Regions from separate parts of the Homo sapiens genome. Here region 2 is linked to region 1. The links are contacts of gene promoters, found by promoter capture Hi-C in human tissues and cell types (Jung and others, 2019). All regions are on one chromosome and are shown on one strand. The core of a region is centred on a gene start or on the middle of the fragment in contact, and the rest is flanking DNA. Distances in the headings are between cores, read along the strand shown. Region 1 holds the start of SLC2A10 (solute carrier family 2 member 10). Region 2 overlaps EYA2 (EYA transcriptional coactivator and phosphatase 2).

What was found. The method cuts DNA at HindIII sites, captures the fragments that hold promoters and counts their contacts. A contact is called where the count stands out against the background at its distance.
Region 2: a fragment that was not itself captured here is called in contact with the fragment with the promoter of SLC2A10 in region 1 in 1 of the 25 tissues and cell types used here (H1 embryonic stem cells).

What each region holds. Positions count from the first base shown.
Region 1 is chr20:46,708,211-46,713,066 of GRCh38, reverse strand. It overlaps SLC2A10 (solute carrier family 2 member 10), which reads right to left and starts at 3,418. Exons shown (of 5, transcript NM_030777.4): 1 at 3,327-3,418. The coding sequence starts at 3,330. The HindIII fragment of the contact is 11,113 bases long and covers 1-4,856 here.
Region 2 is chr20:47,166,175-47,170,849 of GRCh38, reverse strand. It overlaps EYA2 (EYA transcriptional coactivator and phosphatase 2), which reads right to left. Exons shown (of 16, transcript NM_005244.5): 11 at 1,653-1,711. MIR3616 (microRNA 3616) reads right to left here and starts at 3,883; the gene lies at 3,792-3,883. The HindIII fragment of the contact is 9,518 bases long and covers 1-4,675 here.

The DNA.
Region 1 (4,856 bases), core at 2,169-4,668:
GAAATCCAGAAAGAAAGGATCTTGGCTCATGAACATCTGAAAGGTCCAGGGCCTGGAAGTGGCCATGGACAGGAAGCAGAGCAAAGCCTCGTCCTCAAATTAAGATGTCTTAGGCTGGGCTCGGTGGCTCATGCCTATAATCCCAATACTTTGGGAGGCTAAGGCAAGTGGATCACTTGAGTTCATGAGTTCAAGATCAGCCTGGGTAACACGGTGAAACCCCATCTCTACCAAAAAATACAAAAATGAGCCAGGAATAGTGGTGTGCACCTGTAATTCCAGCTACTTGGGAGGCTGAGGTGGGAGGATGGCTTGAGCCTGGGAGGCAGAGGTTGCAGTGAGCCGAGACTGTACCACTGCACTCTAGCCTAGATGACAGAGCCAGACTTTGTCAAAAAAAAAAAAAAAAAAAAAAGAAAGAAAGAAGACAGAAAGAAAGAAAGAGAAAAAAAGAAAAGAAAGAAAATTAAGGAGAACACATTAAGACGGCTTGACCTAAGTTTAGCAAGTGTGCATCCTTTCTATTAATAACCTGCCTAACATAGGCTGTAGTGAAGATGTCCCACACTGGAGGAAATCCCTTAATCCTCTAAGCCCCTCGCTGTGGAGGGCACAGCTTCCCCGGGACAGGGTCAGGGGGCAGGGGGAGGGGGGAGAACCCTGGTTTGGGATGCAAGTATCTCCAGCTGCAAGTCCTAGGCCTCCCGTTGGTGACACTAGAGTAGTGTCTCAACCAGAGGTCACAGAGCACTGGGTCCCTCCTGCACCAGAGACCTGCTGTGGCTTTCCCTGAAGCTCCAGGGAGAAGCCAGATGTGAAATTGAACTGTATGAATATCCTCTTGCAGATGGCCGGCTTCCAAATGTCCCAGCAATTGCAGCCACAGCTGATACTTGGAGTACCCACTATAGCCAGCCACTCTCCTAAGGGGCAGTATCTGTACCAGCTGGCTTAATCCCTAGACAATCCTATGACAATCACTATTGTCATTCCCATTTTACAGAAATAACCACCACACTGAGAGGTGAAGACATTTCCCCAAGGTGGCACAGTTTGTAAGTCACATAGCAGGAACTTGAACTCGGGCAGTCTGACTCCAGAATCCCAATATTGGGTGCAATATAAAATAAAAACTCACATTCACTCACCATTTACCAGATATAGGTGATGAGCCGAGCACTGTAATTCATTTTTTCACATCATTCTCATGGCTACCCTGTGATAAGGGTATTTGATAGTGACCAGAGAAGTTGGCAGACTCTCCCAGGTCAAAGTGGAATGGTGGAACAAAGTGAGAGGAATTGGGTCTAGAACCCAGTTCTGCCCCCAGAGGCTATAAAGAGAGCCCAATCCCTGGTCCCTGCTGTGTAAGAATTCTGGGGAGGACAGAGACCCGCAGCCATGACTTATGCCTCCCCCAGCACTAACACCCAGCCCTCGCTCTGCCCATAGAAGGCACTCAGCAAATGGCTGTTGGGTTGATTTAGCAGGAATAGGAGGTGCAGGAACAAGGGGCTAGGGCTAAGCTGAGTGTCCTTAAGAAGACCTTGACCTCTCTGGGCCTCATTTTTTTCTCAGGCTCTGGGGCACTGTGCTGTGGGGGTTAAGAGGATGGACTCTCCTGTCAGAGCCGGAACTGGTCACCAGTTTTACCATTAATCCACCATGACAGGCCACGTGGTGCAGTGGTTAGGAATGCAGACTGGAGTCAGAATGCTGGGGCTCCTTCCCAGCTTCTCCTCTCCATAGCTGTGTGACCTTGGGGAACTCACCTCACCTCTCTGGGCTTCCCCATCTACAAATGGGATATTAATGCCTACCTTCTATGCTTACCTACATCATAGCCAGTGTTAGCGACTGTGATTCTCCACAGAACGACTCAGAGCAAACTTTGAGAAGTTAATTCAGGGCCGGGCGCGGAGGCTCACGCCTGTAATCCCAAGCCGAGGCAGCCGGATCACGAGGTCAGGAGATCAAGACATCCTGGCCAACATGGTGAAACCCACTCTCTACTAAAAATACAAAAATTAGCTGGGCGTGGTGGTGTATGCCTGTAATCCCAGCTACTTGGGAGGCTGAGGCAGGAGAATTGCTTGAACCAGGGAGCTGGAGGTTGCAGTGAGCGGGATCACGCCACTGCACTCCAGCCTGGCGACAGAGTGATCATCTCAAAAAAAAGAAAAAAAAAAGAAAAGATAATTCAGGTCACGGCCCCGCTCCAGCTTAAAACCCTTCTCCAGCTTGCCGTGGCATTTGCAATAAAATCTGAACTTCTCACCACGGCTTACAAAGCCCTGCACACCTCTCTGCCATCCCTTTGACCTCAGTGCCCTGCCCGCTGTGCTCTGGCCATCCTGGCCTGGGCCACACAAACTCATTCCTGCCTGAGGGCCTTTGCACTGTTGCTGCCACCTGGAAGCTCTTTCTCCAGATCTCAGCAAGACCCGCTTCTGAGGAAGTTCTCAGCTCCAAAACGTCCTACTCCAGAAAACCCACCCTGACCACCTACCCAAGGAACCCACGCCCTTGGCCTTCACGCCACCCCATTTTATGGGTTCCACAACACCTTATCTCTCTCTGAAGTTATTCATAAACGTGTTTACCCAGCTGCTCAATCAGAATGCCACCTCCATGAGAGAGAGGTTTATTGTCTATTTTGTTCATTGCTGAAGCTCTAACCCCTATATCAATGTCTGGCACGTAGTAGGTGCTCACTCAAGAATCAACGACTGATCCTTCGAGGCTTCTGAATGCAGAGAGAAAAATAGAGCCCTAGTCCCGAGTGGCAACAAAGCCATTCCCCACGCGTCCCACCCCAATGCTGTGTTAGAATCTCCTTCTCTGTCCCCTCTCTGCAGAATCACGTCCAGAGGAGGGGGTTCGTCTGTTTTGTTCGCAGTTTCGTTCGCGACAGCGTCCCCAGGCCCACAACAGCGCCTGGGGCACAACCGCGCTCAGCGAATCGATGAACTGCTTTGCTTCTTTCGGAGCCTCCATTTCTTCATCTGCAGACCAGGAACAGCTGCACTTGCCTGGGGCTGTCGGATCAGGGCGCCCGGGAGAGTGCCTGGGCCCGAGTGGGCGCTGCAGCAAGTGAGGGGCCACTTTTCCGGGGCAGAAAGGAAGATGGAAGGAAGCGCGACCGAGCCCCGTCCCAGCCCCCGCCGCAGGCCTGCAGTCTCGGGCTGGCCACCCGAGAGGCGGTATCCGGCCGGGGCGGCCCTGGGGGAGCCAGGGGGCGCGCACTCTTAGGGGAGCGTGGGGGCGGTGTCTACACCCTGGGAAGGGGTCGGGCTTCCAGCAGGCAGCGCCCGATCGGGACTTACCCATGGCGAGCGGGACTCGGCGGCGTGCTGGGGGCGCTGAGGGGCCGGGCGCGCATCCCCCGCCGGAGTCCCCAACGCCGCTGCCGCCGGACAAACTTTCCGGCCCGCCCCCGCCTCTGTCCCTCCTGCCCTGCCCTCCCGCGCGCAGCGCCGCCAACGCCACGTCGGCCAGCCAGGCCCCGAGGCCTGGAGGCGGGACGGAGGGGAGCCCAGGACCGCCCCCGGCCGCCCCAGGCCTGGCAAGGACCCCCTCCCTCGCCCACTGTCCTCCCGGGGGCCCCCACCCGCCATCTCCCGGGTCCCCTTCGTTGGTAGTCCTCCCCTGGGGGGGACACACCAGCAAGCCATCCTCCCTGGTAGAAGACCCCACACGCACTGTCTTCCCCTGGCCTCTTTGCAGGGAAGAGGTGCCCCAATCACTGGTCCACACTTGTCTGGCCTCCCCAGCGTGCGCACACACACAACACACACAACACACACATCTACACCGAGTGAGACACTCGCGCATACCCACTGGAGCCGCTCACTCTCTCATGGATTCATCCCTCATTCACTCCACGCTTGGGTTTGGACACCACCACATACCAGGCACTACGCTAGGCTTGGGATGGGCCGAAGAACAAAACAGAACAGGTCTTTTGTTTACCTTCTAGGAGGGGAAGAGTTTACATTCTAGGAGGGGAAGACGAAAAAGAAGTAACTAAAGGATCCTGAGAAATATCAGCTAGTGATAAAGACTAGGCAGAAAGTTAAACTACGGTGGTGGGTTAGGCAGACACAGGTGGCTGCTTTAGCTTGCTGATCTGAGAAGAGGATATCTGAGCAGAGATCCGGCATTCCCCGCAGGGGGAACAGCAAAGGCAAAGGCCCCGGGGTGGGAAGGAGCTTATGGGGTACAAAAAACGCAGAAATGAAGCCAGAGTGTCTGGAGCAGAGGAGAAGACAGGGAGAGAGGAGGGAGATGGGAGCTAAGGGAGGGGCTTTGGTGGGCCAGGGTCAGGAATGTAGATTTCAACCCCATCAGCAGGACAGATAACTGGGGAGTTCTAACTGGTTAAGGGCCAGAATACTCAGCCTTCCCACCTGGGAGGCTGTTGCAAGGTGAGAAGTTGGTTTGGGCTCATGTCACTGTGGTGAGGTTGGAGAAAAGTAGGCAGATCACATATATATGCTCCGTAAGAACTTACAGACTGGAAGAGGGGCAGCTTGTGGCTGGGAAAGGAGATCCAGAGTTCTGTCTTGGCTGTGTGACATTTGAGGTGCTCAGCAGGCATCCACGTGGAAATAGGTGGGCAGTTGGCTATGAGCCTGGGATTCAGGAAAGGGGTAGGCTGGGGACACTGCCACTAATGCTCACTCAGGCAAAAATGCACGTACAAGCCCAGCACTCACATGGGCGCAGCCTTATCCAGCCTCTCAATACGTGTTCACAGATAGGCACCTTTGCATGTGCACCAGTGGCTGTACCCTCACCAGTCAAAGTCACAGCGACCCCTACCGTACAGGTGGATACACAGGCATTCTTCCATG
Region 2 (4,675 bases), core at 973-3,472, 460 kb before region 1:
AAAGTTACAATGACTGATCCCGTAACCAAAACATTAGTTGGTCTAATAATATATCTGATGAGCCTAAAGCCGTTGAATTGTGGTAATTTTGGATGAGCACAGATTAACTATGGTTCCATTTTTACAAAGTTTTCCCAGGGGCAGGCTTGGAACATTCCAGCCCACATTCCTCTGGAAGCTGTCTCTCTTTTTTTTTTTTTTTTGAGACGGAGTCTCGCTCTGTACCCCAGGCTGGAGTGCAGTGGCACGATCTCGGCTCGCTGCAACCTCCGCCTCCTGGGTTCAAGCAATTCTCCTGCCTCAGCCTCCCAAGTAGCTGGGATTACAGGCGCCCGCCACCACGCCCGGCTAATTTTTGTATTTTTAGTAGAGATGGGGTTTCACTGTGTTGGCCAGGCTGGTCTCGAACTCCTGACCTCAGGTGATCCTTGCGCCTTGGCCTCCCAAAGTGCTGGGATTACAGGCGTGAGCCACCACACCCGGCCTGAAGGTGTCTCATATTAAGCAATGGGTTACCTGATTCCTGGAAGCCATGTCCTGGGAGTGTTTTCCCCTAGAAACCAGACACACCACTTATTCATTTGAGAAGTGTTTCTTAAGTATTGGCTGTATCAATTGTTATATTAAAAATATATGCATGCTGGTCGGGTGCGGTGGCTCACGCCTGTAACCCCAGCACTCTGGGAGGCTGAGGTGGGTAGATCACTTGAGGTTAGGAGTTTGAGACCAGCCTGGCCAATATGGTGAAACCCCGCCTCTACTAAAAAAACAAAAAAATTAGCTGGGTGTGGTGGTGCATGACTGTAATCCCAGCTACTCAGGAGGCTGAGGCAGGAGAATTGCTTGAGCCTGGGAGGTGGAGGTTGCAGTGAGCTGAGATCACACCATTGCACTCCAGCCTGGGTGACAAGAGTGAAAGTCAGCCTCAAAAAAAAGAAAAAGAAAAAAATATATATATGTATGCTAATGAATACAACCAAATATTTGGAGGCAGCTGCCTCCTTACGAAGACTGCTGGAGGAGGAGAAGCACGTGAAACTCTGAGCTTGACTACTGAGAAAAAATTGGTTATAACATCTCCGGACCCTTGATTGGAGGAGAGAAGCTGAAAGAAAGGGTATTTTCAACATTTTGAGCAGATCTTTGAAGAATATATACTAAACTCTTAATGGTGGTGAGTTTGGGAGGTGAGGTCAGGTTAAGTGTTTGAATTTTTTCTGTTATGCATGCATTACTTCAGTAAGCAGGAAAAAAATAGCAATAAATGAGCAGAGTTTAGTGATTTGAGGTGATGAGCAAGAGACTGTAGGGTTGAGGGGTGAGGTTGTGATTTTTTAAACAAATTTTTACTCATTTATTTATTATAGTAGAGATGGGGGTCTCACTATGTTGCTCAGGCTGGTTTTGAACTCCTGAGCTCAAGTGATCCTCCTGCTAAGACCTCCCAAAGTGCTGGGATTACAAGTATGAGCCACCACACCCGCCTAGTTGTGATTTTTGAGTCTGAGATGCAAAAGTCCCAGTTCTGGCTGGAGGCAGGCACTCCTTGTCCTTATAAGCAGCCCTCCTCTCCCACCCCACTTCCTAGTAGAAGGATAACTTGATAATCAATCAATCAATCAATGGGCATTTTTGACTCCCCAAATTCCCACCTTAAATCTTGGCCATTGTCATCTGATGAGACGTCATCAACGTGGATCTGGTCACAATCCTATGGAAAATTTGACAGAGAGAGAGAGAGAGAGAGAACATGCCTGGTTAATCTGATGTAGCCTTCAAGGGTTGGCCTCATAAGCTGAGGGCTGGGATGAGCACTGCACTGGGAGTCATCAGGCTCGGGTTCTAGTCTGGATTTGGATACTCAAGGTTAGAGGTCCTTGGGTTCAATCTCATCCTCTTTGTCTGTTTGGTTTCCTTATAAATGAGCAGGTTGACTGCAAGGAAAGTGACCATACAGATACTCTCCAAACAGAGAGAGTTTTGCATTAAAGGGGGATGGTATTATACTAGGGGGATAGGTTCAAACCAGGACTCCCCTAGGTCCCCAGCTTCCCAAGTATGGCCAGACATTTGGTCACCCTGGCCATATGGTGGACACCTCTGCCTCGCTAAAGGTGTTCCCCCTGCTTGAAATGCTCTCCTGCCTACATCTGCTTAGTAAACCCTGTGCTCTTCAAGTATTGGCTCCTGGAGGGACACCTGCTGTGCCTCATGATCTGTGATCATCATTTACTGAGCACTTACTATGTGCCAGGCACTATCCCCAGGGCTTGCCATTGAACAAACTCCAATGCCATGCTGTTTCCCACTCAGTTTCCTTGGGGAAACACCTCTCTCTGTGGGACAAGACCATGGGGTGGAGGCTGGGCATGGTGGCTCATGCCTGTAATCCTAGCACTGTGGGAGACAGGCGGGTGGATTGTTTGAGGTCAGGAGTTTGAGACCAGCCTGGCCAACATGATGAAACCCTGTCTCTACTAAAATACACAAATTAGCTGGGCGTGGTGGCAGCTGCCTGTAATCCCAGCTACTCGGGAGGCTGAGGCAGGAGAACTGCTTGAACCCAGCAAGTGGAGGTTGTAGTGAGCCGAGATCGCGCCACTGTGCTCCAGCCTGCATGACAGAGCAAGACTCTGTCTCAAAAAAAACAAAAAAACAAAAAAACAAAAGACTACGGGGTGGGGACAATGAAAACCAATCAGAGGGACCCAAGGTCCCCCTGGCCACAGTGATTGCTTCAAGGATGAACATGTGGTCTAAGGTGGGCCAATGGGAACCAGCCCGGGGACGTTGGCTGGCACTTTTGGAAGAGGTGCTGTCTCTTCCCTGGGGCTGCTGAATGGTGGATTAAGCCGGGAGCTGCTGAGGAAAGCAGGGCTGCGAGCTGGAGAGGGGGATGCCATGAGCATGCGATCTGATCCCCTGGATCCAGTCAGGACTGAAGCTGAGCCATCCCTGACTGTGCTGGGCCGAATAACGAACCCCCAAAGATGCGCACATTCTTATCTCGGAACCTGCAAATCTATTACTTTAAATGGCAATCAGGACTTTAGTTCAGTTAGAGATCTTGAGGTGGGAAGTTTTTCCTTGGCTGTCGGGGTGGGCCCTAAATGGAATCACATGGGTCCCTGTAAGAGAGACAGTGATCTGATGACAGAAAGGAGAGGGTGACTGGAGTCATGTGCTTTGAAGATGGAAGAAGAGACCACAGTCAACATACACAAGTGGCCACTGAAAGAAAAACTAAAACAAACAAAAAACCAAAGGGCCAGGTGTGGTGGCTTACACCTGTAATCTCAGCATTTTGGGAGGCTGAGGCGGGTGGATCACTTGAGGCCAGGAGTTTGAGACCAGCCTGGCCAACATGGAGAAACCCCACCTCTACTAAAAATACAAAAAATTAGCTGGGCATGGTGGTGCACATCTGTGGTCCCAGCTACTTGGGAGGCTGAGGCACGAGAATAGCTTGAACCTGGGAGGCAGGAGGCTGCAGTGAGCTGAGATCACACCACTGCACGCCAGCCTGGGCGACAGAGCGAGACTCTGTCTCAAAAAAAAAAAAAAAAAAAGTAAAAAAACCGATTCTCCTCTCAGAGCCTGACCTCCAGAACTGTAAGAGGACACGTGTGTGTTGTTCGAAGCCAGTAACTGGGGGAAATTTGTTACAGCAGCCCTGGCGAACAAATACACCCACTTTTCAGATTAAGTGAGTGGAGCTGGGTTTCTGGCACTTTGCAGCCAAGAGTCGTAAGGGATGCCATGTCCCATGTGGAGCCTACACGATGCACACCTGCCAACCCCGCCTGCATCATGAAATGCCCTCGTGACACGCTGATGGGGCAAACATATCATGAGTGCACTTCATGATGCTGGCGGAGTGACATGATAATATGTTGATGGGGCAAAAAATGTGCGGGGGTGCCAGCCCCTGCGGTACTGGTTCAGGGTGCAGGCTCTGGAATCTGACTGCCTGGGCCTGGATCCTGGATCCAACCGCTTCCCAGTGTGTGACCTTGAGTGAGGGGCATGACCCTCATGAACCCCAGAGGCCTGACTGATAAATGGACCTGATAACTGAACCCACCTCCAGATGAGGTGAGGAGAAGCGAGATGCTGCATGAGAGCACCGAGAACAGTGTCGGGTGCACAGTGGCTACTGCATACATGTTAGTTTCTACCACTGTGTTAAGATCTTACACATTTTCCCACAGTTTAGTTGCAAGGTGATTTCTCGAGGCAGCTGCCTCCTTACAAAGGCTGCTGGAGGAGGAGAAGCACGTGGGACTCTGAGCTTGACTACTGAGAAAAAATTGGTTGTAACATCTCTGGAACCTTGATGGGAGTAGAGAAATTGGAAGAAAGGGTATTTGCAACATTTTGAACAGATCTCTTTTTAGACAATTGGACAAGCAAAAAGCTTTTTTTTTTTTTTTTTTTTTTTTTTTTTTTTTTTTTTAGACAGTCTTGCTCTGTCACCCAAGCTGGAGTGCAGTGGCACAATCTCAGTTCACTGCCACCACCTCCCAGGTTTAGGTGATTCTCAAGCCTCAGCCTCTCGAGTAGTTGGGACTACAGGTGTGTGCCACCATGCCTAGCTAATTTTTGTATTTTGAGTAGAGATGAGGTTTTGCTATGTTGGCCAGGCTGGTCTCAAACTCCTGGCCTCAAGAGATCC